7 separate regions of the Homo sapiens genome follow, and regions 1, 2, 4, 5, 6 and 7 are each linked to region 3. Evidence: promoter capture Hi-C in 16 types of primary human blood cells and fetal thymus (Javierre and others, 2016). All regions are on one chromosome and are shown on one strand. The core of a region is centred on a gene start or on the middle of the fragment in contact, and the rest is flanking DNA. Distances in the headings are between cores, read along the strand shown.

Region 1 (4,199 bases), core at 1,034-3,533, 650 kb after region 3:
GCTGTGCATGCCTTTAATAATGCATTACCTAAAGTATATTCTGTATTCATTATAGCAGTACAGCAACGTGACGTGAATTATTTCCACTCTCTACTTCGATACAAATATCTTCATGCAGGCAATCTATTTAACCACATTCCCCTTCCCAGTAAAGGTGAATGAGATGTGGCTTTCAAGGGCTGGGATCACGGTTGTAAAAAAGAAAGCTGAAACTTAGCAAGGAAGCATACGTACCTTTTATCCAGACAAACAATGAAGGGAGTATTCTTCTATCTAATTACTGGCACCCTGTGTTTAAAATAATTTGAACGTGTAAGGCTAATAATGCAAAGTACAAAATTGCGTTAGAGAAACTAAAGCTTCAATTAGTTCAGTTTCAAGTGGCAGCACATTTTCAGATAGGCACCAGCAGCAGCAGGTACTGTAATCCCACAGTTTAACTCTCCTTGAGATGTTCCAGAAAGGTGGCTGAGTTCTAAAAACTGTGCTCTATGTGTGATCTGGGAATGATTTGGGGACCAGGAGGTACAGAAGAGTTCTTTTTAGTGGTGAGCAGATGATGACATCTAGGCTTGGCTATAGATTACTGCCGGCACTCTCTTAACTGGTTTACTGCTTCTGCCTCAACACAGTACAGTGCTGTAAAACTTCTTAGCTCAAAACCCTTCCACATCTCCCCATCTAACTCAGATACAAACCAAAGAATGAACTATCGCTTACAAAGTCCACTCCCCCACCCTCGTCTCCTGCCACTCTCCTGCTCACTCCATATTCCATGACAGCCACACTGGCCTTCTTGCTATTCCTTGAGCACTTTGGGCACACTTCTGGCACTGGCTGCACCTTCTTCCTGGGACACTTCTCCAAATACCCACATGACTCCCATAATCTCCTCCAAGTCTTCATCAGATATCACCTTCTCAATGAAGCCTATGCTGATCATTCATTGACACTCAATCCTCATTATTCACAAATTGTGTATTTGCAAATTCACCTCACTAAAATTTATTTGTAACCTTAAAATCAATACTTGAGGCACTTTTGTGGCCATTCACAGACAAGTTCTGTGCAGCAAAATATGTACATCACCCAATGAAGTCTGAAGTGCTGCTGAGGACCTCAGCTGGGTGAGATCCGACAAGGCCCATGCCACCTCCATGCTTTAGCTCTCATACTAGGAGTATCCTTTCTACCACCTATTTAGTGCCTTGTTTTTCACATTTTTGTGTTTTTGGCGATTTCATTGTTAAAAGTGACCCCCAAGCACAGTAATGAAGTGCTGTCTAGCGTTGCTAAGTACTGGAAGGCTGTGATGAGCCTTATGGAGAAAACACAAGTGTTAGAAAAGCTTTATTCAAGCACAAGTTATGGTGCTGTTGGCCATGAGTTCAATGTGAATGAATTGACTACATATGGTAAAGAAGGCATCTTTAAGCAGAAACATTCAAAAAAACAAAGTTATGTATTATCAGTTGATGAGAAGTTTGTAACCAGAGGCTAGCAGGAACCTAACCCTGTATTTCCCCTAGAAGCAATGGCCCAGTGGTCATTAATTCAGTGTTTGTAAAGTGATATTAACTGTATACTGCAACCCTTCCCCCAGAACTCCAAGTCCCCCTCCTCATCCTGCTCTATTTTTGCCATAGCATTTATCACACATCCTAACACACCATATCATTCGCTTATTTATTAGGTTTGTTAATTATCTGTCTTACCAGCTGGAGAGTAAGCTATGTGAGCGTATGTGCTTTTGCCTGTTTTGTTCACTACTATATCCCCAGCACAAAGCACAGTTGCTGACACATAACAGGCACTCAACAAATATTTGTTCGATCAGTGAATGGATAGATGGATGGAGTCACAGCCTCCCCTGAAGCAGAGATCTGACAAGTGCCTTCCTAGAGGAAAAGTCCCACATGAGTGTATCCAGGAAAATAAAGGAATAAGGTGGGAATGCTCTCCTGGAGGGGAGCTATCAGGGAGAGGTCAGCTGAGCCTAAAGGGAAGCAGAGGCTGGATGGGGAACAAAGTTTACCTGCAGGCTCTGAAGCTGAACCCAGGTAGACAGCTGCCAGGTTTCTAGAGGCAGACTGTAGATGGAAAGTGCAAGACAGCAAGGGGTGCAGGATGTAACGGGCTCCAAACAGAAATGGGGGGTGCCAAGCACCATCATATTTGCATTAATCCTTAGTAACTAAAATCCCTGGTGTTGTGCCTCCTGGAATAAGCTCCATAGAGTTGCCCATGTAAGCAGCAGCTTCATTACATATCAATAGCTGCAGCTCCATGTCTTCCCTGGCAACTATTTATGGCTAGTGTTCCATTACTGGAACACGAAGCATGTGGGAGTTACTTATATCCTACTGCTCAATGTCATCGCCGAGGTCTGATTGCAAATATTCAAAAAATTGCAACCTCAGGCATAAATGGGTTAATTGCTGGCTCAACTTTGACTCCTCAGCTTGCAGTCTGTCCGTGGGATTTCAATACGGAGGTGAGGTCTCTCTCAATCCTGATTCACCTCCAGCACACTTTGGACGTTGGTGTCAGTATCCCTGGAGGGTGACTACACCTTGTTCTACCCCATATGAACTTCCAATAGCTATGTAATTCATATTGTGTCAGTTTAGTCAAAAGACACACATACACACACACACCTTTAATGCCTGAATGTCCAGTAACAAACAGAACATGAACCTTAATTTATACAGAAAGATTAAATTCTCACCTTCACCCCAGCAGGTAGGCATCATTAGCCCATTAACAGGTAGAGAAACTAAGGCTTAGATAAGTTAAGTACCTTGACCGAGGTGACAGAACTAGTAAGGACAGGATGTGACTCCGAGTCTGCTGGACTCCAAAGCTCATGCTCTATTCTCTAGACTACATCATTACATAACTCCCTTAAATGCTTTTTAAATGAATTAAAATATTGCTCTGCTTTTCCAACAACTTTATGTCAAAGTGACGTACAATTATTCAAACAAAACAATTTATTTCACTTATTTTCAGGGAATTAGTGTAATTTCATTTAGTTTTCAAGGTATCCACTGACCACAATATTTACATTTTAAAGACATGACAGTTTAAAGCTAATCACTGGTAAACTGTTACAGAAACCAACATCAAGTAAACTAGGACATGCTATTGGGAGATGACATGGTGTTGTCTCAGGTCTGCCACTCTCCTCTCTGGGCAAATCATTTAACCTAAGCTTTTATTTTTCTCATCAATAAAATGGAGATGACAAAAACAAGGCCTTCTCCGACTAATCTACTGAACCAACAAATGAGACAATAGATGTGGAAATGTTTTTAAACATTCAGGGGCTATGGAGACTCAGTGATGGTCATGCCTGTCTTGTGACACATTACTTGTCAGTATTAACTCCCTGAGGGCAGGGACTCCTCTATTCAGCTCTGTATCATATACATTTGTCAATGGTTGGCCCATAGTAGGTGCTCAATAAATACTCCTTGACCAAAGAGAATTTGGACTTTCAGGTACAATTCATTCTGAGAGGCTCTACAACAAGTCTAAATAGTCTGTAAGCGAAGTATTGATGAGAATAATCTAGACCATCCAAGAATCAAATATGAAGTTACAGAATAATCTGGGGAAAGGTCAAACGATAGGGGACACTCTGTTCAGTGTGATGCTGATAAAACTTGCCCGGGAACAGCTGACAAACTGTTTGCTACTCCTGCTGCTGGCACCTCCACCAGCCACTCAGTGGTCAGAGTACAACAGCCAAGAGATCACACTTTAAGCCCACACGGGTCAGATGGCATGACACAGATGCCACCACTCTGCAAACCCTCTCCCAGATGCTTGTCTCTCATTATGGAGGGAAGGGGTCCAGAAAAATGCTTCCCAGCACCAGAAAAACATTTCATGACACATTCCTCGGGGCCAACAGTTCCAGAGTATCCATCTAAGACTGGATAAATGGCACTTTTGAGGTGCATATATGACAAACTCACACAAGAACAGCCTGCATAGATTTCTTGAGGGCAGGTCCTGTCCCTACTTGTCATAAGGAAAATTCCTTTCTGCCTACATTATGCTGGAAAAGGGCCGAAGAGTCCCTTGTGGTCAAGGCTCCACTAGGAAGATGCTTTCACAGAGTGGGAGAGAATCACTCTCCACCTCACCTAACATCCTTCCCTCTCCTCTGAAGCACAGGCAAGAGACCTAGA
Region 2 (3,630 bases), core at 530-3,029, 620 kb after region 3:
AATCATGATGATATAGTCCCCCAGGCAGAATCACTGCTCCCAACACCTAACGGGTGGTGGTTGCATCCCACCCACCAGTCTCGCCTCTTGGGTTGGCCATCTGACTGAGTAGGGCCTGAGTTAATTCTGTCCCTTTCAGACAAGAGGTAATGGACACAGGAATTCACCCTCGAGGGGGGGTCTGACGCCTGTCCAGACCCTGCCTGTCCCTAGCTTCCGGCGACACCCTTGACTCATCCCTGGAACATCCCATCATGCCTGGTACCTCGCCACCTGACATATGACAGGTGATTACTGACACTAAGATTCCCTGTGGGACACCTTTAAATGACAAGATTATTTTATGTGCTTAAGTATCTCTTTACAGACAATGGACACAGCATAGGTGAGAATAAAGAAACTCAAAGCCAAAACATGACAGACCTCATTTACTACATCACTGACCTAAAATAATTACATAATTCAGGAAAAACGGGATTCGAGATATATAAATTCCACTTATTCATAAGTCTTCTGCACAGAGCTCTTCTCTAAGGAGAGATCTACCTGTAGGGAGAGCTGATGTGTTTCATTTGATTTTACATTGACCTGGATAAGATGCTAAGTTCTTCCTAAAATTATATTTAACACAAATTTTTTAAAAATAGAAATGATCTCTTCTCTCAACCAAAACCAAGGCTACTTTGTTCAGCCCCATAAATAAATATCCACACCACAGACAGCAATTTTAAGGTTGCCAGATCTATAATATGGGAGGTAGAAGTATGTGTAGATTAAAACAAAGATTTCAGCTTCCTTCACTCATCCAAAGCTTGTAGAGCCTTTTCAATTACATTAGCGACAGAGACCAACAGACTCTATTCCGGGAATCACAGGACAAAGCAGACATGGAAGAAATCACAGAGATCCGCAGTATATAGTGGGGTCAGAGGAAGGCACTGAAACAGTAATGAAAAACCTAATAATGAGAAATTATATTTATTGTTTAGAATGTGGCAAGTACTATGTTTTGTGCTCACATATACATGCTGGTGAGGCAGGTACTGGTATGCCCAGAGCTGACAGCCAGTAGAAAAAAAGCTGGAAATCAAACTGAACCCTAAAATGCACGAATTACTTGCTCTTCCCAAGCACCCTGCTAAAAGCAGGGTTCTCACTGCCTTTCATTATTACTAATTGAAAATGATGGTTCATGTTAAAAGCTGATGTCTTCCCACTTCCACCTCATTTCTGCTTCTCCCAGCATGGCTGCCCTGCTCCAGGGAAGCCCACCTGCTTCTCCCCAGGTGCCGCCCACCTCCTCCGTCTCAGCTAGCCAGGCTCTGGAAAGTGATGGAAGTTCACGTAAGCAGAGTCATACAGTATTTGTGCTTTTGTGTCTGGATGGCTATCAGTTTTTAAAAAATAAGGTTCATCCAACTCATGCCAACACCATCATTCTCATTCAACCTAGCCATGGCCTCCGGGGGTGATGTGGTAGTCAATTCATTTCTTTCCATTTCCAGGTGCCCTTCCTCATAGAAATGGTGGCCAGCCAAACCAATTCCCTCTCCCATCTCCTCCTCTACTTGTAACATGAGACCTAGCTAAGGACACTAAGCTTTAGCACACCACCTACTGAAAATTTAAAAACTAAATATATTCAAAACCATTTCTGCATTATAAAATATAACAATCTCTGAAAGGCAAAATATGTCTTTCTTATTCAACTAATAGCCAGGAAATTATCCATTCTTACAGCCCTGAAAGATTTCCTTTGCAAAGCACATCTTAGGGCTTTGAAAATACTTCCCAATGACAATTCTGTATAGACACCCAATGCATGAAAGGATGAATGTATCTGAGAACTAATTCTAACTCCAGAGGTGGGACAAAGAGCAGGTTTTTTAAAAATCACCTGTAAATATAAGAGCCTTTGCAATGACTACAAGATATGAGTAGAATATACACAAGCTTTAATTTAATGCTGCCTCTCACTTTCCTTGGATCATGTGAGAAAGGCAGGCGAGGTTAGTGGAGAGTAAAGGGTTATAGTTTCTCACCATGCAGGCACAGTGCAGCACACACAGAGTGGAGAAGGGGGGATGTTAATAGTAAAAGCCAACACACACACACAGTGCTTAGCATGTGCCAGGCACTCATCCATTCTACACACATACAATTATTTTTGCAATAACCCTATGAGGTAGATAGATACTATTATCATCTGCACCACAGAGGAAGAAACAGAAGCATAGAGAGGTTAAGTGATTGTTAGTTAGGGGTAAAACTAACACCTGAGCCCAGACAGTCTCCATTAGCCAGAAGACCCCCCAGGGAACAGTACCTTGGTTTTGAGGAATAAATGGTAGGAATGCACCAACCTTAACTTCCTGAGTTTTGTTATTAGAGGGCTGAGTATCCCAAATCCAAAAATCTGAAATCTGAAATGCTCCAAAATCTAAAACTTTTTGAGCACCAATGAGACACTCATAAAAATGCTCATGAGAGCACCTTCAGATTTTGGATTTTTAAATTTGAGATGCTCAACTAGTATAATTGCAAATATTCCAAAATCTGTAAAGCTCGAAATCCAAAACACTGATTTCTGGTCCCCAGCATTTCAAGTAAGGGATATTCAATCTGCATATTGCAGTTATTCAGTTGGTGCAAAAGTAATTGCATGTGGTCTTTGCCATTGACAGTAATGACAAAACCCACAATTACTTTTGCACCAACCTAGTACATAGGAAAGTGTCCTTAGAAGCATACGCTGAAGTACTCAGAGTGATGATGCTTCATGTCCACAACCTAATCTCAAATAATTCAGGGGGAAAATGTTACATAGGTACTGTGCTTCTAATGTTTGTGAGTTTAAGATTATTTCAACATTTTAAAAATGAAAGATAAAAAGCACACTCCTTGCAAAAGAAAAGCAAACAAGTTCATGTTTTTTGTGTATAGAGAGAAATTAACAGTGCATCCTAAAATCAGAATCTAATTTCTATAACTCGGATTAGTTTTTCCTCATATATTTTGTTTTTGAGCTGTAAATGAGTGAACATATATAAAATGAAAATCAAGACCACATGATAAAACCAGTGATAGCTATCTTACTGGCTGGAAGAATGAAGTGGTTCATAAAGCTGCTCTTCATAAGAGCCATTATCTTAATCTTACCAACTCCACCACCAATAAGTCAGGCAACATATTTGATACGACGCTAAAGGTTTGGCTTAAAGAATGTATATGCCTTTTCATCCTGTTCCCATTAGAAAAAAATAAACCAAACATATTTAAAACTATAAACTGTTATTTAAATTTATGTGATATTTTAAAAATGTTATTTCATCATTACTTAATAATTTTATTAAGTATCATATGAGAAAGTGACTCTATCCAAAAGAAAACTGTGGTCTACCCAACCAGAGGTCTAGTTCCATGTTACCAGAATTTGCGGGCTTTTGCAGCTTCTTCAGAATCATGAGTTCATTCTTCTATTATCATTATTATTACATAGTGACAAATTATAGTTGTATGTATTTATGGGGTACGAAGTGATGCTAGGACTTTTTTTTTTTTTTTTTTTGAGAAGGAGTCTCACTCTGTCACCCAGGCTGGAGTGCAGTGGCATGATCTCGGCTCGCTGCA
Region 3 (4,096 bases), core at 313-2,812:
ACGACCGTTGTCTTAGCCCCTGTCCAGAAACCTTGGGTGTATGTGGTTCTTCCGTATACCAGGGGTCAGCTGTAAAAACTAACTGTATCCTCTGCACTACAGACTACCCTTCAAGCCAAAGCCACGGTTGCTTAATTAATGCTGCCCCTCTCCTGAGCATTCGCCCTTAGAGACAAGTCCACCCCTTTGATGTTTGTCAGGCAGTTTGATACTGATCATACCAAACATCAGGAGCCTGCATTTGTGTCTACGGTAAAAACAACCCAAGACAACTCTTCTGAAGCTGAATCTGCCAGTCACTCTAAATCTGCACTATTGCAATACGACTTCATTAATTACTGCTCAAACACTGGCCTAGAATCAAGGTGGGGCAACTTTCACTAGTCAGGCTAACCTTACAGGAAGGCAAGAAGGTGTTCCCAGAGCCTCACAGGTCCCGGGGGCCCCGGCCTGAAACAGAGCAAAGGAAGAGAGTTACATCAGCACGCTCCCCTAAGACTTGTTGGGGGTGAATCCGCCCTGAAAGCTGCTCACAATGCCCTCCTCTCCACCCAGCCCATGGCACATCCTGAACACATTTCCCGGCTGAACCCAGAGGGTGGCGCTGCCGTCCCAGCCTTGGTCCACGGCCGCCCGCCACTTCCCTGCCTCTGCGGGAGCCCCCCAGCTTGGTCTCCCGCAGGCCGGCGGTGGGGCACGAGCCCGGTAGGGGGCGCCGCCGGCCCAGGCGCCGCTGCTCCCTCCGCCCACCCGGAGGCGGCTGCCGCTAGCCGAGGCCGGCGCGAGTGCACTGCGAGGCGGGCCGCAGGGAGGGAGGCGCGAAGAGGGCGCGAGGGTAGCAGCCAGAGGGAGCCGCCAGCCCTGCCTGCGGATCCCCGCCGGGCGCATGGGGCGCTTCGAGCCGGGACTGCGTGCGGGCCCCGAGGCCAGTTTCCTGCTGTCGTAAGAAGCCGCGCCAGGACGCCCGCCGGACCCCGAGCTGCTGGGAGGATGACCATGGCTGGGGGCAGGAGGGGACTAGTGGCCCCTCAAAACACGTTTCTGGAGAATATTGTTCGGCGGTCCAATGGTAAGAGGTGCATTCGGATTTCGATTACCCGGGCGTTTTATCCGTGCCTTTATTGCAGAACCTCTCGCCGCTCGGAGCCAGCAGATGCAGCAGAACCCGCGAGCTCTGCTAAGGAGCCGCGGCGCGGGCACCCAGGGCAGCCTCCCCGAGGCAGAGAAAGGTGGGCAGGGCGGGGCGGGGTCTGATGGGTCCCCATCCTAACAGGAGAGCTCTTCTGGGGACGCCTTTTGGGCCTTTCTAGCGCCCTCTCGGTCTTATCTCCAAGGATGCGTGACAGCTGCTGAGCAAAGTACTGGGAAAAGTGATGGAAAGCTGGCTGCAGCCGGAGCGGCAGCGCGCGCCCCATCGGCACTGCCCACCCTTCCGCGAAGGCTCTGGGGCTCCCGGGCTGCTCCCAGAGGCGCCGCCTCTCCCCAGGGAGAGCCAGCAGTAGAGACGGGCAACTCCAGGTCCCCGCTGCCTCAGAATGGGAGGATCCGGCTGCCTCCACCTTCCATCCCTGCAACTGAAAAGTCCGAGGTGTCGGGACGTGCTCTCGGCGGCCTGATTCCACCCCTTCACCCACCCACCACTTTCTAGGTGAAGTTAAGGCTCACCTTCGAAGTGAGGGGCAGATGGTTTTCCTGGCGTCAGGTGGGAAGTGGAGGGCACAGGTGCAGAGCGAACTAAATGGTCACAGGTACAAACCTGTTATATTTCCCCTCTTCCAAACCCACAACGGTTTTATGCCACCCTTAAGTGTTGCTCACCTATAAATTCCCAATCTCACCAAACCTATAAATAGATCCATTACCCAATAAACTGACAATCAGCACTCATCTGTTTCCTTGTGGCATTAAGATCGACGGTAGCATGAAGCCTTGAGAGGCGAGAGTCCTAGGAGCGGGGATGGAAAGGAAGAATTCCAAACGCCTTTCGGACTTAACAGAGGAGAGACCCCAACTAAGCACTTGCAGAGCGACTAGGAGTCCTGGCAGTTGGAAGGCGCAGCGCACGAGTTCATCAAATGGCTATATTGAAAGATAGCCAAGCATAAGATGCTCTTTGCAGACTCCTAGAGCCCCCACCCCACCCCTTCCAGAAACAGATGACATTCTTCTACCAGGGAGACATGAGGAGCTAACTTAGGAAATGGGTTTTAATAATGTGTAAATATCACGATTTCAGAGTCTAAGGAGCTTCTGTGTAAAATGATGAGCTTCTGTTTGGATTTAGTTAGGGATTCAGGGGAAGGGCATGAAAAGTGACTTATGCTACTAATAAACACTCTTTAATTAAACAGTGATTTAAGTTTATCTTATAATGAAACACATCAACTAGCATAGCAAATAATCACGTATTATTTAAGTACTTTCTTAGAAATGATCATTTCTTTATTGTGTGCCTCTTAAGAGTGTTTCTGGTCAGTCACCTTTCCTTTCAAGGTCTTCCTTATTCAAACTAAGGTGGCTTTTAGGTCAAGGTCACAGTCATTACCTGGGGATGCAAGGGGATGATAATTGCTATGTGAACAGCCACAATGAACTGTTTTGCCATAAAAAAGCTGGAGTTGTTCATTTATTTTTAAATAAAATAAGAGTTACTGTGCTATTATTGCTATTTTTATTGGACTATTAAGGGGTATGGAGACAATCTTGCAAATTTGGTTATCCCATTGTCAGTGACACCAACTTTCTCATAAATATCAATGACAATTCTATTTTTCAGTAAAGAGGCAGTGCCCTGTAAGTTAGAGGGGAAACCCAGTACCTAATGTATACTGTGTATGTTTTTGAGTGGAGGGAGCAGGAAGAGAAACTTACATGTAAAAGTCACAAGATGCCTTGGGTTTTAAGGGAACCTTAAGAATCTTGGAGCTGTGAAGGCAGAATACTGTCTATTTTAGTTGATCTTATTAGAGCCACTTTCCCTCTGTAATCATAGAATGTGAATAGAATAAGTCACTGGGAATATTTTTAGGATGGGCATTGTCATTTCAACACCAGTTTCAGCAGGTTGATTTCAATTAACCAATCAAATGAATAGCATCAAAAAAAATGAAGCATCTTGGGAGAGTTGGATGAATTTTTAAAATTATTATTTCAGAATAAATGGTTCTCATCTTGAAATATGGGACTCAATGTTTAAAAGGTGATCCCTTTTATAATATTTCCTGAACACAAATGGAAGAAAAAATGTGAACTCCTAGAAATATCACAATATCTGCATGCATTATATTATTTTACTGTGGTGGAAAAAGTCTATTTAAAGATATTGATTGTCTCATTCTAAAATCCATGAGCCCTTTTTTGGACATTACGGTATTAAAATAGCATTTTACCTTTGAATAGCAATATTTTATGATCATTTTATTAGATATTTTCTCCCAGTGGTCCTGTGCAGTATTAATGTTCCTCTTTTACAGATCAGAAAACTGAGTCCTAGGAATATTAAGTGGCTTATTCAAAGTGGCAGAGCAAACAATGCCTGAGGCTGGTATTCCTTAGAGGACATCTATCATATATCCTTCTCTCAGCATTATAATTTCTCCAGCTTTTATGACTTAGTCTGTGGAACTATTTTTATCATCCTTTAAAAACTTCTCATATGATAATGAATAATAGTACTGACTTCATTTTGGGTTATTTGAATATCTGATGCCCGGAATATCATAGAGCTGTGGGAAGAGACAGACCTTAAATATTATCTAGTCTGCCTCTCCTTCCCCATCATTGTATAAATAAGGAAATTGATGCAAGAGGCTTTCCTCAAATATTTAAGGGCAGAACTAATGAGGCCCCAAACCATTTGAGTCCAATGTCAGATTCTTTATGGTACACCATGCAAAAACCCTTTCCTCATGTTACCATTATATTCTCTCAAGAAGCATAATTTCCCAGTGGAGATTAAATAAAATGTTATAACAACAAGAACAACATCCATCTTGGCTAACAGCCACACTACCACATCTCAACAGAATAATAGGGCAAAGGAAAGGCTAATTATATTTCAAGGAAATGCAGTCTGTTCACCTTTGTCAGTGGTTTA
Region 4 (3,800 bases), core at 926-3,425, 570 kb after region 3:
CATGATTACTACAAATATTGAATATAGATAACCTATATGCTTAACACTAAAAAGACAATGTTTAATATTTTCTAGCTTTTTAATATCTACTGAGCCTCTAGTAAATGTCAATCATCATGTTCTGGGCTTTCCACCCTATTTCGTTTGCTAATTTTTTGGCAACTTTAAGTGTTCAGGGTCATGTTTGTGAACCTAAACCAACATTGTAGCAGCAAAGCATGGCAGATCTAGATAAAGTATCCAACTAACTATGAGGTGATAAAAAAAGTTCAGTGCATTTCTACTCAAATCTGGTAGAAACTCCTGATGACAGCACGAGGTCCAGAGGCCAAGAATGACCCCCTATAGTTGGCACAGAGGACGCTAGAGCTAGAAGGGATCCAAGAGGCCGTCTTGCCCAGAGACCCCTGAGCTACACCCACACCAAGAGCCATCCAGCCTATACCTCCACGCTCTTAGCGGCCAGGAGATCTCAGCTTGTGAAACAGTCTTTCTACTTTTAGACAACTTAGGTTGAAGAAAACATGCTTCCTGGTGCTTTTCACTGCTTGGTCCTGACTCTCCTCTTCAAAGAAACACAGAGCAAATACCAACCCACCAACTGGCAGCCTGCAAAATAGCTGATGAGGGCTTTTGGGTCTCTCCAAAAGCTTGCTTTTGCCTGCTACAGATTCTCAGCTTCTTTGTCCATTCTTTGTGATTCCAAACTCTCTCACTGTCATCGTTTCTGTTTTTTTAGATACTTCCTTGTTTGTGTTCCTCTGGTATTATGGAGCCAGAAATAGAAGGAGAATTCATGGAACGACAGGAATAATGAAGAACAGACTAGGAATGCCACATTGTTTTCCTAACCATATATTTGCATCATCACCAAATATTTTCTAAGCATCTACTACATGCTGATACTGTGCAACACATCAGAGATGTACAGGAACATGCCAGATCAGACTAAGAGCTTACATCCAACCTAATACTGAGGATGCCTGTGGTGACATTTGTTTCAGGGCAGACTTAACTCACAGCAGAGCTTGCATCTACCACTTTTTTCTGAGAAAGTGAAGACCATCATATGAGCACCCTCTCCTTCCCGAACCATATACATCATCTTTATCACCATCGGCACATGTCCATTCACGATTTGTCCCTTCTCCCATAGTTAAAGAGATGTCCTTTCCACGACTAAGGCTAACTCTGCTTGTTAGCTCCATCTCCTTCTGCCTCCTGAGGAACCATGCTTCCCCTTCCCACCTCCCATCTCCAGTATCTCTATCCAACTTATCTGACTGGTTCTTTCCTTAACCTAAAGATGCACTCCAGTCTTTCCCATTTCATAAATGTCTTTCTTTCATCCACAACTTCTTCCAGCCTCAATCCTAATGGCTTTTTTTAAAAGCAGGTATTTAAGGTCCTTGAAAGAGCAGTCTACACACAGTCTCTAAGTGACCCCCCATCCCATTTCTTCCTTAACCTGTTGCAGTCTGACTTCTGCCCCTCCCCTCCCCTCCCCATTCCATCAGCTTTTGTCAAGGTCATCAAAGACCTCCATATTGTCACAGCCAATGGCTACATCTGTGTCTCTCTCTTATTTGTCCTATCTATTACATTGTGCATTGACAGTGCCCTCCACTTTCCTCTTTAGATAATTTCTGCTTTATGTCTTACCACTACTGTACTCCTTACCTTTAGAAGTATTTTTTAAAATCCAGAACTACCAATGACCTTTTTGTGTATGTCCTCTATGACATTTTTCTATAAATACACATAGACACATACTTCTTATAAGAATAGGATGGCATACATTCCACTTCAGGAAACTGTTCTGTTCACCTAATCATGAGCATCCTTCCACATGACTTTCCTTGTTCACATTTTTGCTTCTGTGGCTCCAATGGAGCTCTCTGTTTTCATCTTTAGAGCCACTGCTCCTCATGCTCCCTCTCAGGCTACTTATTCTCTGCCTAGTTCTAAAAGTATCAGCAACCACTCATGGTTCTGTCTCTTAACTTCTACGTGCTCACACTAGGAGACCACATCAGCACATTAACAATATAGTGAAGCCAGGCGCGGTGGCTCATGCCTGTAATCCCAGCACTTTGGGAGGCTGAGGTGGGCGGATCACTTGAGGTCAGGAGTTCCACATCAGCCTGGCCAGCATGGTGAAACCCCATCTCTACTAAAAATACAAAAAAAAAAAAAAATAGTTGGGCATGGTGGTACGTTCCTGTAACCCCAGCTACTCAGGAGGCTGAGGCAGGAGAATCACTTGAACCCAGGAGGCAGAGGTTGCTGTGAGCTGAGATTGCACCACTGCACTCCAGCCTGGATGACAGAATGAGACTCCATCTCAAAACAAACAAACAAACAAACAAAAACAATGTAGTATGAGTTCATCTATCACCTTAACCAGCTAGTCAACCACTCACTGAGGCTAATAATACACTGATGCTAACATACAGTACATGCTCAAGAAATATCTTCCAAATGAATTGGAAGGCAAGGAGGAAGAGAAAAGAGCTGAAGTGAGGGGTACACCCTGGAGGAGGCCAGCCCAAGTAACTTGGCATGGTGAAGACCCAATATGAGGTTATGGAACAGAATAACAATGGGCTGAGGGGAAAATATCAGAGAAGTATCAAAACCAAGTTCTCTCCTTCACACCTATGCTGAGAGTTGGATCTGTCATACAGTTGCTGAGAGCACCACTGAATAGATAAGAAGTGGTTCCCAACTCCCTGCTCTCCCATGATCAGCCTCCAGGAATCACTGTGCAAGAGTGCCCTTGTGAAGGGGATCTGAAGAGGCTCTCCCTGGACTTCACTCCACCGCAATGTTGAAGAACCCTCCCCATCGTGCTTTCCACCCACTATCCCATAAACTGCCTTCCACCCCACTCTACTCTGATTTCACCTTTAGGCTCCTTCTGGAAGCCATCTCAGATTAACATCATCCATCTTCCAAACCCAAATTATGATCCCCGGCCCCTAACATGATCTTTTCTGCTATTTCTAAATTCTTACAGTTTGGATAATTATACAGTTGCTCAGCTGCTTCATTTTCTTAGCTATATTTGGACCCCACAGGGCTGAGACCTCATCTGTTCCAGAATCTATATCCCACATGCCCAGTACCCTTCTGTATTCCCTCTAGGTACTTACCACAGGCGGAATCACTTGACCCAGAAGCATTAAAACCAAGGAGAGGCCTCAAAGTATAGTGGTTAAGGCATGGATTCACCCTTGGATTCTAATCCTACCTTCACTTACAAGTTGCGAGGCTCCGAGCCAAGTTTATCCGTTCTGAGCCTCAGGCTCCTGATCCTTAGTGGAGGCAATAAAACCCACCTTTGTAGGGACATGGATGAAGCTGGAAACCATCATTTTCAGCAAACTATCGCAAGGACAAAAAAACCAAACACCGCATGTTCTCACTCATAGGTGGGAATTGAACAATGAGAACACATGGACACAGGAAGGGGAACATCACACACTGGGGCCTGTTGTGGGGTGGGGGGAGGGGGGAGGGATAGCATTTGGAAATATACCTAATGTTAAATGACGAGTTACTGGATGTAGCACACCAACATGGCACGTGTATACATATGTAACTAACCTGCACATTGTGCACATGTACTCTAAAACTTAAAGTATAATAAAAAAAAAAGAAAAGAAAAAAACCCACCACAGGAATATCATAAAGCTTAACCAAGACATTGAACACAAAGAGCTCAAAACATGCCTGGCATACAGCAAGCGCTCAGTAGATGTTGGATGTTAGCTGTGACAAAGACTCACCTCAGCAGA
Region 5 (3,739 bases), core at 235-2,734, 680 kb after region 3:
GAATAGGGGGTATTTTAAATAACTGTGCTGCAACTTGCTACATTTCAGTATATATTTATAACAGCACATCAAGCAGGCATCTCTTCCATTCTGCAAGCATGCACCATGAAATTATCTTCACACTACATAGAATATCTGTAATTGAACAGTCAAGTTCCAGAGTAGTAAATCCCAGAGTAGCTTTAGGTTTACACTGCATTAATTTTAAATAACCTTAGGATTCTAATCCAAGAAGAAAATTTATAAAAATTTTTTCTACTGTATCTTAACGAACCTTAGAATGTTTAATGCCTCAAAAGAGGGGAAAAAGAAAGGAATCTTATGCTAACTGATATATGTTTGTCTCCCCAGCTTTCAAAACAAGGATCAGACGTCAAATGTCTTATCCCTTTCCTCTCACTGTTATGTTGTAGAATGAGAAAAAGCAAATGGATAACTTTGCTGGCATTTCATTACCATTTAGATAGGTGCACAGGCGTTATTTCAACAACAGTTGGTACTTAAACACTGAGCTAAAAAACTCTGATTACTTACACTTAGACAGGTTTTTAATCTCCAATCAGTGAACAATTAAGTCTTTCAAAAAGGACTCTAATGTACATTCCACAAAGCTTTATTATAAACTTTGCCATGTAAGAACAACCAACTTTCAATTATTTTCACTTTTCTATCTCCTCGCTCACTCTCAAATCCCTTGCTAAAGCTCTCTTTTCTCCCATAAACTCATATACCTGGATTTACCATGGATTTACCATAGAGAAGCACCATTCAATAATAAATTGAAGAAATATTACCTTTCTGAGCTCTTTTAAAGAAAAACCTCAAGTCACTGTCTTTGCTCCTCTTAATCCTAGGCTCTGCCTAGTTAGGGTATAGCTCCACTCTGCCATGTTCTGTTTTCTTAGAAGATTCTGAAGTTCAAAAGAATATAACAGTTCTTATCTTTTAGAGATACTACCGAAATATTCATAGATAATAAGATATCTGGGATTTGCTTCAAAACAATACGGGAGAGAGTACAGATGAAAGAAAACTGGCCAGGAGTTGATAATTGTTGAACCTGGGAGATGAATACATTAGGGTTAATTCTACATTTATGCTTTTAATTTTCCAGAATGCAATATTCTAAAAGGGGAGGCACTGAGAGCCCCCACCTGAACCCTAAATATTCAACTTCCTCCTCACTACCAATTGAATGCATGTGCAGGGGGCAATGAGCAAAATGGGCTTATCTCAGCACAATCCCACCTCCTTGCTCAGCCTTTGTGCATAGAAAGCATGAAAAATAGAAAAATGGAGAGGCGAATTATGGGAGGGAGAAGGGGGAGAATGCCAAGGATCAGAATAATGAATTAGCTTATCAGTCCTTAGATCGCTGGGAATTGGCAGTCTATGAAGAAGAATATCTTTCTATAACAAGATGCCCCATGGTGATCTTTAGCAATTACAACAGCACTTCTGAAATTCATCTGGTCCTAAACACCTTCTGGGATAATAATCACAGAGAATCCTAGCCTCTCCTTGAAAGATTCTGTTTAGTATCTGAGCCAGAGATCTGAAATCTCTATATAAAACAAGCACTAGAAAATTATGCCCAGTCAAGTTTTAGAGATCTAGGTTACAAGTTCCATACCCTACTTTCTTTTCCCATTTTTTAAAAGATATATCATGTTTTGGGAGGCTGAGCCAGGAAGATCACTGGAGACCAAGAGTTGGAGACCAGCCTGGGCAACATAGCAAAACCATGTCTCTATAAAAAATTTAAAAATTAGTCAGGCATGGTAATGCATGCCCACAGTCATAGCTACTTGAGAGGCTGAGGTGGGAGGATCACCTGATCCCAAGAGTTCAAGGGTGTAGTTAGCTATGATCGTACCACTGCACCTCAGCCTAGGTAACAGGGTGAAACCCTGTCTCTAAATAAATAAATATAAATATAAAAAGATATTTCAAAGTGTAAATAGCAGTTTTCTTGGAAAAATAGAAATTACCTTTCTGTTGTTTTAATTTTCCAAATACTAATTTCATTAATATTTTCTGATTTTCAGGTATAGAAAAGAAAAAAAGTCACCTTTCTCGTTCAGTTTGTTCTGTGGCAGAATTTCAAAGGTAATGTTCCAAATTCATTCTGACATTCATCACTGAGTTATCCAAAAAGAGAACATGCAGGGAATTTCAAAGAGAAATCTTATGCCACAGAAGTGACCTTTCATTTTATTAGCTAAAGACTGCTATCATTTTGATAAGCACAACTTAGTTGTGAAGAAACAATGCTCTGCTAGTCTGAGAGCAAAGATCAGCGGCGACCCAGACCCAATCTAATACTCCCTACCAGAGAAACCAAGCTCCAAGCTTCTCTGCAGAGTTCTGCTAAAAATACTTCCACAAATAGTGCTACAAACAACTTTTTTTTTTTTTTTTTTTTTGGAGATGGAGTCTCGCTCTGTTGCCCAGGCTGGAGCGCAGTGGCATGATCTCGGCTCACTGCAAGCTCCACCTCCCGGGTTCACACCATTCTCCTGCCTCAGCCTCCCAAGTAGCTGGGACTACAGGTGCCCACCACCACACCCGGCTAATTTTTGTTTTTGTATTTTTAGTAGAGACGGGGTTTCACCGTGTTAGCCAGGATGGTCTCGATCTCCTGACCTCGTGATCTGCCCGCACTTTTAACAAAACTTAACACCACCCTATCCCATAGTGTAGGAAGTAGAAGAGAAAAAACGTTACTGCCAGTTATCAAAGCTCCCTCAAAAGATAAATCCTCAGCTAATTTTCAAATTTGCTAGCATTCCAGGGGAAAGCTGTTTGTACATTTTATCTATATATTTATTTAATATGTAGATTCATTATAAAATGTGCCCTCTGCTATTGTCACAGTCCTTGGGGTATGTAAAAAAAAAAAAAAAGATTTACAATGTACCAATTATAAAAGATATGGCCAGGTGCGGTAGCTCATGCCACTGCACTACAGCCTGGGCAACAGAGCAAGACTCCATCTCAAAAAAAATTTTTTTAAAAATAAGATACAAAATAATTTTTTAATCCTTCAGAATAGGAAAGTTGCACTCAGAACATCTTCCCTTTCACAGAAGAAATGTTTGAAAAGCAGGATGTATCCAAGGCTCCAGTGATCTATGCAGATCTTCCATACATTTTCCCCAGTTGGCACCCTTCCCAATAGCTTTAATGGCCATATCCTCACTGTTTCCCACCCCCCCCACCTGAGACGCAGTCTTGCTCTGTCGCCCAGGCTGGAGTGCAGTGGCGCAATCTTGGCTCACTGCAACCTCTGCCTCCCAGGTTGAAGCAATTCTCCTCCCTCAGCCTCCCAAGTAGCTGGAATTACAGGCGTCCACCATCATGCCCCGCTAATTTTTGTAGTTTTAGTAGAGATGGGGTTCACCATGTTGGCCAGGCTGGCTTTGAACTCCTGACCTTGTGATCCAACCACCTCGGCCTCCCAAAGTGCAGGATAACAGGGGTGAGCCACCACGCCAAGCCCATATTCTCACTGTTGAATCCCAAATACGTATCGCTAACTTTGATATTTCCCCCGAATTCCAGAACTGTGGATGCATCCTCCCTCTGGAAATCTCCACTTCCTCTCTGTCCCTGTGGCCCGACACAGCACCTGGCACCCAACATTTAGAGAGCGAATTAGCGAGTAGAAATTTCTTTATGGAGACCTAATGAAACTTTGATGAACTGATGTGAATTAAATGACCATCACTTTTTCAAT
Region 6 (3,654 bases), core at 66-2,565, 550 kb after region 3:
CTGCTTACAGAAAATGCTGCAGCCACCTTCTTAATTTAAAAGCATCTCACTGAATCAATGCACCACAGCAAACCCCCAACTCAGGAGGAGGAATCTATATAAATAGTAGACAGTATTGATGACTTCTACCCTTTACTGAGTGCCCATGCACCAGGTGCTTTATGCATACTATTTCTAATCATTAAAACAACCCTCCAAGGAAATAACTAGGCCTATTTTATATAGGAGAGGTAAAATCTGCTCCTAGAATGTTGTAGTTCCAGAAACCCCAGGGCTGGGTGCTTTCACTGATATATTTCTCGTTTAACCAAATCTTCAAAACAGTCTCCACAGAAACATCCACTGATGTTTTATTAACTGAAAAATGTCCTTTCTAGGAAAGAATTCTTGCTCAAGAGAATAATGATTACAATTTACAAAGGGATTTAAGCCAATGAGCTCTGTTAGCCACTGTTCAGTGTCAGAAGACAAGAGGTATAACTTCCGCTTTTGAACAGACTAAGTAGTTGCCCTCTGTCCCACAAGCAGAGATAACACCTGCTATCTCAACTCCCTGACATCCTGCAGACGTCTGCCTGTGTCAGAAGTGGGGCATAAAAAGTTGGTGGCTAGGGTGATGCTGAGTAGAGGTACACAAAGGGAGAAGAAAATATCTAGCTCCCTCATACCTACTATGAAAAACAACACAAATATACGCCCTACAGTGGGAGACAGGGGTGGTAACAATCCATGTGGTAAACGCATTAATCTTAAAATCGCAACACTTCTTTTTTCCAAGGACCTATACAATAGCTCCTTGGCTTGCTACATTATCACCTAACTCTATGACAGACTAATCCCAGACCCCAACAAAGTATGAAGATGAAGCACCAGACACTGACAGACATGGCTTTTACTACGGTTTCCTGCACTGAGCCGAGGTGGGCTTGCTGGTTTCCTGTAATCACTTACCCATTCCTCGGCCGGGCTGGGGCAGGCAGTTGCTGACATCCTACTCTAGCTCCACCTTAACTTTCCACCCTTATTTCCCTTCTCCCCACTTGGCTTTGGTGACAAATCCTAAAATCCTGAATAAAAGAGGATTTGACAGCTCCGTGCCTTTGGTCATACCATTTTCACATCTAGAAGACACTGCTCCATCCTCCCTGATTTTCCAACACCTACTCAGTCTACAAAATCCAGTTGATTTCCCAACTCCAGGAAGTCTCTTTTGCATTTTCCAACTTGCAATTTAACCCAGGAACCTACTGTGTGTACTGTCTGTTCCACTGATTGAACAGCTTTTTACCAAAATGTGTCTATTATGGGTGTCATTTTAACTCAATTGTAAGATTCATTCAGACAGCACTAGATATGTGATGTGTGTATGTGTATGCGTGTGTATGTTACACAGCTACTAGTCAACAGTACTTAAATACGTAACATAATTTCCATTTACTGCTGATAGCCTCGAATAGCTTTTAAACTTGTTAAAAATTGTCACCATTGTCATGGACCCATTATAAGCAACAGAAATGAAAGGATGATTGATTATAAGGTCCTGTACCAGGTACTGGGAGACTTTGGAAGACACCTATTCCTAAAGAATACAGAGCATTGAAAGATGCTGAAGTTTCTCCACACTTTGTAATCCTAATTACCCTACTAAAGTCAAAAGTATGTGTCACCACACCTCTGGAACTACTCCAACCCTAAGAGATTTACCACCCAAAGTAAAAGTACTAGTCCTTTAAAGAACAGAGCCTTTAGTGGCTAGGAAAGGCAAGACTTTTGTCCATGTTACACTGGTGGTGAGGTGACCTCACCTTGGCTCCATCTGGGCCCTGAGACCAGCCCCTGCTCAGGTTTCTCTTCTCTACAGAGCTGGCTGTGCTGTCCTGAGCCCAGCTCTCATGGGCAGTAGCTCCCCTGACCCAACCCTGGCTCTAGCTTTGGCCTTGGCCCACATTTTAGTGTTCTTTCTCACAGCCAGTGATGACCCTCCAGCCAAATCTCCATCTTCTAGGTAGTTCTCAGAAAGGAAGCTACATATCTACTTATAAAAAGTTTTCACAATCTACCCATCTGACAACGGTCTAATACCCAGAATTTACAAGGAACTTAAATGTATTTATAAGAAAAAAACAAATAATCCCATCAAAAAGTGGGAAAAGGATATGAACAGACACTTCTCAAAAGAAGACATTTATGTGACCAATAAACATATGAAAGAAAGCTCAACATCACTCAGCATCAGAGAAATGCAAATCAAAACCACAGTGAGATACCATCTCACACCAGTCAGAATGGTGATTATTAAAAAGTCAGGAAACAATAGATGCTGATGAGGCTGTGGAGAAAGAGGAATGCTTTCACACTATTGGTGGGAATGTAAATTAGTTCAACCATCGTGGAAGATAGTATGGCAATTCTTCGAGGATCTAGAACCAGAAATACCATTTGACCCAGCAATCTCATTACTGGGTATATAACCAAAGGACTATAAATCATTCTACTATAAAGACACATGCACACATATGTTTTTTGCAGCACTATTCACAATAGCAAAGACTTGGAACCAACCCAAATGCCCATCAATGATAGACTGGATGAAGAAAATGTGTGGAATACTATGCAGACATATAAAGGAATGAGATCATGTCCTTTGCAGGGACATGGATGAAGCTGGAAACCATCATCCTCAGCAAACTAACACAGGAACAGAAAACCAAACACCGCATGTTCTCACTCATAAGTGGGAATTGAACAATGAGACACGTGGATACAGACAGGGGAACAACACACACCAGGGCCTGCTGGGGGGTGGGGGGTGGGGGGAGGGAACTTAGAGGACAGGTCAATAGGTGCAGCAAACCACCATGGCACACGTATACCTATGTAACAAACCTGCACGTTCTGTACACGTATCCCCCCTTTTTTTTTTTAAAGAAAGAAAAGTTTTCAAAGGAAGATGTACACAAAAAGGAATATAATTTGCTTTTAATATTTTTCTGTCCAGTAGAGATAATAACAGCATTTTAACAAGTAATAACCAGCAGTTGGTTAATGGGCAACCACAGGCTTTGTCATCCTCCATAAGGCTAAGAGGAGTCTATTTTCAAAGCAGGGAAAATATTTTGAGCTGGGCTAATTCTCAGCTCCTTTACTAAAAGATGCTGTACATAAGCTTCATATGCAATTCTGAAAATTATCTATTAAAAATTCTATGCCCTCTTTGGCAACAGAACATTGTAGGGTTTATAAAACAGAAATTAAATTCAAGCTATATTTAGCCTACACTTCAACTTCTAGGTAAATGTAATTAGATGCCAACATTTAAATAATCTTTCTTTTCGCTCCATGAAGCTGGTAGTTCAGTGAGTTGAAGTATTGTGCTGATGAACCCAAGCTTGTAGCTTCCATCTTAGAGAAAGATTCAACCACAACTTCATAGTTCAAAACCCAAACTCTGGCTTCACAAAAGCTCTATCTTTCTCACAGAAAGAGAGGCTGAGAGAGTCTGAATGGCTCAGTCCAAGCACATTTGCCGCTAGAAAACAGCCCAAGCAGCAACAGTGGCGAAGTATGGGACAAGAAAGAGCGCAGTGCTTGAGAGCTAGAAGATGTGACCTTGGCCCTGCTCTGCCACTCACCAACTTCTGTAACCTCGAACTT
Region 7 (3,739 bases), core at 1,151-3,650, 590 kb after region 3:
TTTTGGGAGGCTGAGGAGGGCGGATCACCTGAAGTCAGGAGTTCGAGACCAGCCAGGCCAACATGATGAAACCTTGTTTCTACTAAAAATACAAAAATTAGCTAGGCATGGTGGCGCATGCCTGTAATCCCAGCTACTCGGGAGGCTGAAGCAGGAGAATTCCTTGAACCCGGGAGGCAGAGGTTGCAGTGAGCTGAGTTCATGCCCTTGCACTCCCGCTTGGGCAACAAGAGCAAAACTGTGTCAAAAAAAAAAAAAAAAAAAAAAAACGAAAGAAAGAAAGAAAAGAAAAAAACAAAACACCCTGGAGACTTATTAAACCCTTCTAACTTTCTCTAGGTAAAGATACTTGACAAGGTCCCTTGACAGGAATCCATATAGTCAAAAGTCACTAAAACTGTACATATCACCAGCTACATCCCCTCCCAGTGGCGATGCCTAGAGCTTGAGAGATTCCCACACCTCAGGACCAGCAGTGGGTGAATAGAGGGCACGGGCAGTGCATACCATTTCCTTCTCCATCTGTTGCAGAAAATAAAGAGTCTTTTCTTAGGGTCTAGTGTTTGAGAGGGCCAAAGACCCCGAAACAGACAGATCTTGGATCTTACAGACAGCTCACAGGCCACCTGCAACCCAAGGGCAGAGAACAGAAAAGTCAACAGTGTGTTCTGGGACCAAGAACTGCTTCAGCTATCTAGATTATGTGGAAGGTGGAGACAGTGAGGGTAGAAAAATAGGGCTGGAAAGGTGAGCTGGGACTGGATATGAGGCCTCGATGAATTTATCCCTATGGGCAGAGAGGAGCTACCAAGGTTTCTGAGGATGTTGCTAGATTCTCATCCATGCTCTGTTAAGGTAAGGAGTTCATGGAAAGGATGGACTTAGAGGCAAAAGAATGTAGGCAATAATACAGAGCATAGCAGGAAGGCCTTTGGAAGGGTCCTATGAAGAAACAATGAGAGCCCCAAAAATGAATTCAAAGAAAAATTTGGAAAAATTAAAATTCAAAACACGTGAAGTCTTTTGAAGGGGTGGGGAGGGTTGAGGCAGGGTCTCACTCTATGGCCCAGATTGGAGTGCAGTGACACAATCACAGCTCACTGCAGGCTTGAACTCCTGGTCTCAAACTACTGGCTTCAAGCAATTCTCTTGGCTCAGCCTCTCAGAATGCTGGGATTACAGGTGCAAGTCACCAAGCTCAGCCAGACATGAGTTTTTAAAGAGTGAAGAGAGATTATTTGAACAATTCCCTTAATTTTTCACAGAAAAAGAAGGAAAAAAAAAAAGAAAAACACCCTGGAGCATTATTAATTTTTCAGAGAAAAATTAGAGGAAAAAAAAATTCAGAGAAAGCATGCCAAACCATCCTACTGATGAAATTTACCCTTCCTATATCCTCCCCTAACTTCCCTGCCTCTGTTAACCCACATTTATGAAATTAGCTGAATTTCTTTTTTTAAAAATGTCTGCTTTTTTAAAGGCTATTCCATCAGCTCCTGATTACAAACTCACTAAATGTGTTTTCGCTTTCTTGGCAGGACTAACGTTCCATAAAGGCTTCAGAAAAAGAAAATCAAAAGCTTTGCTTAACTGTGGTCATTACAATGAAGCAAATGCAGTTCTCCCCATGATGCCTGTCTGTGAACAGCGGTGCCATATTAATCTACCTCTGTTGGCAAACAGCTCTGAGATCAGCCCCTAAACCTTTTGCAAATGTAAAACAATCAAACAATCAAAATATATACAGACACATAAATATATCCATATATGTATAATATATATACAACACGTATACTTAATATGATTTAAGACAATATTATTTTATTTTTGTTTTTTCAGAGACAGGGTCTCACTCTGTCAACCAGACTGGAGTGCAGTGGTTGATCCTAGCTCACCACAGCCTTGAGCTCCTGGGCTCAAGCTATCCTCCCACCTCAGCCTCCTGAGTGGCTGGAACTACAGGTGCACACCACCATGACTGGCTAATATTTTATTTTATTTTATAGAGATGGAGTCTCACTATATTGCCCAGGCCAGTCTTCAACTCCTGGCCTCAAGCAATCCTCCCAACTCAGCCTCCCGAAGTGCTGGGATTACAGGGGCAAGCCACTGCATCCAACCAATATATATATATATATATTTTTTTTTTAACTAAAACACTGATGCGGCAAAAACTGTCCAAATTTTACTTATTTCCTAAACCTAACACTGCTATGACAGAAACAGGAAAAGAAACTAAGGCATTTGCTGAATTGTAAAGAAATCAAAATGTGTTTTGAAATACACCAGAGGGATGACCATGTCCCTGGTAAGCCAGGGGTAACAGTTTAGGTGACAGCAAGAAATTTGGGCAGTTGGAGGCCAACCTCCCACCCCTACCTATTTATTCCCTGCCCAGAGGTGGGAGAGGCAGGCAGATGGAGAAAGAGTAATCAAGACCTATAAGGATACGTAGGTTGTCGTCTGTCAATAGTGACAACTTCCTGTCTCTCATCTTGAAACAGTTTGAATTTCACTTTCCTTTGTCATTCAAAAAGCAGGGTTGGAGATGGGGAAAACAGCCAAAGGGACATCAAGGGAGAGGAAAAGAGAAAGCAGAAGGAAGGAGGAGATGAATCCACCAACTGGCCAGTTATCCCCCATTCAGACCCTTGTCACAGACATTCCCTGGAATAAGCGCTGACGCTGATGAACTCCCTGGCCAGTGCAGAAACATTCTCCAAGGGAGAGGCCACACTCACATTGTCGGCCTGGGGCACTGGGCAGACAGCAAATCGTTCCCAGGCCCTCAGCTGAGTCATTCAGACCAGGAGACCAGGGGGGATGCTGACATTCCACCTAAACCTCTGAAGTTCCCTGTGAATGTAGATATTCTTTTCTTTCTGTTGTTTTGTTTTTTGTTTGTTTTTTGAGATGGAGTCTCACTCTGTCACCCAGGCTGTAGTGCAGTGGCACAATCTCAGCTCACTGCAACCTCCGCCTCCCGGGTTCAAGTGATTCTCCTGCCTTACCCTCCTAAGGAGCTGGGATTACAGGCACGCGCCACCACACCCAGCTAATTTTTGTATTTTTAGTAGAGACGGGGTTTCATCATGTTGGCCAGGCTAGTCTCAAACTCCTGACCTCAAGTGATCTGCCGCCTCAGCCTCCCAAAGTGCTAGGATTACAGGCGTGAGCCACCGCAGCTGGCTGGTATTCTTTTCTAGAGCAGTCAAGCTTTATGTCTGCCTGTGAGACTTTGTTAAGCCTTTACCCTCAAAGAGCTTGTCTCCCCTCATTTAGAAAATGGCAAAACCCCACAGTCTATTGGATTCACAGGAAGATTTGGGGACACAATGCTGGTCAAGTGGCTAAACATGATACTCCATGCACAGGATGTTCTTAGTAAGTCATTATTGTGGTTTCATTCAGAAACATTGCTCAGTATTGTCTCTATTTTTTTAATATAAAATAAAAATATATTGTCTTATATTTTTTCATTTAAAAAGCAATACTTGGCTAGACGCAGTGGCTCACACCTGTAATCCTTGCACTTTGAGAGGCCGAGGCAGGCGTATTGCCTGAGCTCAGGAGTTCAAGACCAGACTGGGCAACAGGGTGAAACCTCGTCTCTACTAAAATACAAAAAATTAGCCGGGCATGGCGGCGTGCGCCTGTAGTCGCAGCTACTCAGGAGGCTGAGGCAGGATAATTTCTTGGACCCAGGAGGCGGAGGTTGCAGTGAGCCGAGATTGCACCA

What was found. Contacts are between HindIII fragments. The CHiCAGO score rates a contact against its expected background, and 5 or more counts as called.
Region 1: a contact is called between a fragment that was not itself captured here and the fragment with the promoter of KCNH1-IT1 in region 3, in 6 of 17 cell types (endothelial precursors, M1 macrophages, fetal thymus and 3 more). The highest score is 9.3, in endothelial precursors.
Region 2: a contact is called between a fragment that was not itself captured here and the fragment with the promoter of KCNH1-IT1 in region 3, in 2 of 17 cell types (erythroblasts and M0 macrophages). The highest score is 5.7, in erythroblasts.
Region 4: a contact is called between a fragment that was not itself captured here and the fragment with the promoter of KCNH1-IT1 in region 3, in 2 of 17 cell types (M1 macrophages and endothelial precursors). The highest score is 5.8, in M1 macrophages.
Region 5: a contact is called between a fragment that was not itself captured here and the fragment with the promoter of KCNH1-IT1 in region 3, in 11 of 17 cell types (endothelial precursors, M2 macrophages, megakaryocytes and 8 more). The highest score is 20.4, in endothelial precursors.
Region 6: a contact is called between a fragment that was not itself captured here and the fragment with the promoter of KCNH1-IT1 in region 3, in 12 of 17 cell types (M1 macrophages, M0 macrophages, M2 macrophages and 9 more). The highest score is 26.3, in M1 macrophages.
Region 7: a fragment that was not itself captured here is called in contact with the fragment with the promoter of KCNH1-IT1 in region 3 in 1 of 17 cell types (M1 macrophages); the score reaches 6.1 in M1 macrophages.

The regions. Positions count from the first base shown.
Region 1 is chr1:210,478,550-210,482,748 of GRCh38, reverse strand. All of the region lies in intron 8 of HHAT (hedgehog acyltransferase), which reads right to left. Among named protein-coding and RNA genes, the nearest start is that of HHAT, 150 kb to the right of the region's middle. The HindIII fragment of the contact is 1,866 bases long and covers 1,351-3,216 here.
Region 2 is chr1:210,508,137-210,511,766 of GRCh38, reverse strand. The region is part of intron 8 of HHAT (hedgehog acyltransferase); the gene reads right to left. Among named protein-coding and RNA genes, the nearest start is that of HHAT, 180 kb to the right of the region's middle. The HindIII fragment of the contact is 353 bases long and covers 1,603-1,955 here.
Region 3 is chr1:211,130,840-211,134,935 of GRCh38, reverse strand. It overlaps KCNH1-IT1 (KCNH1 intronic transcript 1), which reads left to right and starts at 1,562. Exons shown (of 2, transcript NR_046784.1): 1 at 1,562-1,748; 2 at 1,910-2,657. It overlaps KCNH1 (potassium voltage-gated channel subfamily H member 1), which reads left to right and starts at 788. Exons shown (of 11, transcript NM_172362.3): 1 at 788-1,069. The coding sequence starts at 991. RefSeq lists silencers at 607-886, 1,381-1,571, 2,798-2,998. The HindIII fragment of the contact is 10,582 bases long and covers 1-4,096 here.
Region 4 is chr1:210,562,518-210,566,317 of GRCh38, reverse strand. All of the region lies in intron 9 of HHAT (hedgehog acyltransferase), which reads right to left. Among named protein-coding and RNA genes, the nearest start is that of HHAT, 240 kb to the right of the region's middle. The HindIII fragment of the contact is 3,046 bases long and covers 653-3,698 here.
Region 5 is chr1:210,449,775-210,453,513 of GRCh38, reverse strand. The region is part of intron 7 of HHAT (hedgehog acyltransferase); the gene reads right to left. Among named protein-coding and RNA genes, the nearest start is that of HHAT, 120 kb to the right of the region's middle. The HindIII fragment of the contact is 1,741 bases long and covers 614-2,354 here.
Region 6 is chr1:210,579,648-210,583,301 of GRCh38, reverse strand. The region is part of intron 9 of HHAT (hedgehog acyltransferase); the gene reads right to left. Among named protein-coding and RNA genes, the nearest start is that of HHAT, 250 kb to the right of the region's middle. The HindIII fragment of the contact is 3,706 bases long and covers 1-3,168 here.
Region 7 is chr1:210,540,898-210,544,636 of GRCh38, reverse strand. The region is part of intron 9 of HHAT (hedgehog acyltransferase); the gene reads right to left. Among named protein-coding and RNA genes, the nearest start is that of HHAT, 210 kb to the right of the region's middle. The HindIII fragment of the contact is 1,636 bases long and covers 1,583-3,218 here.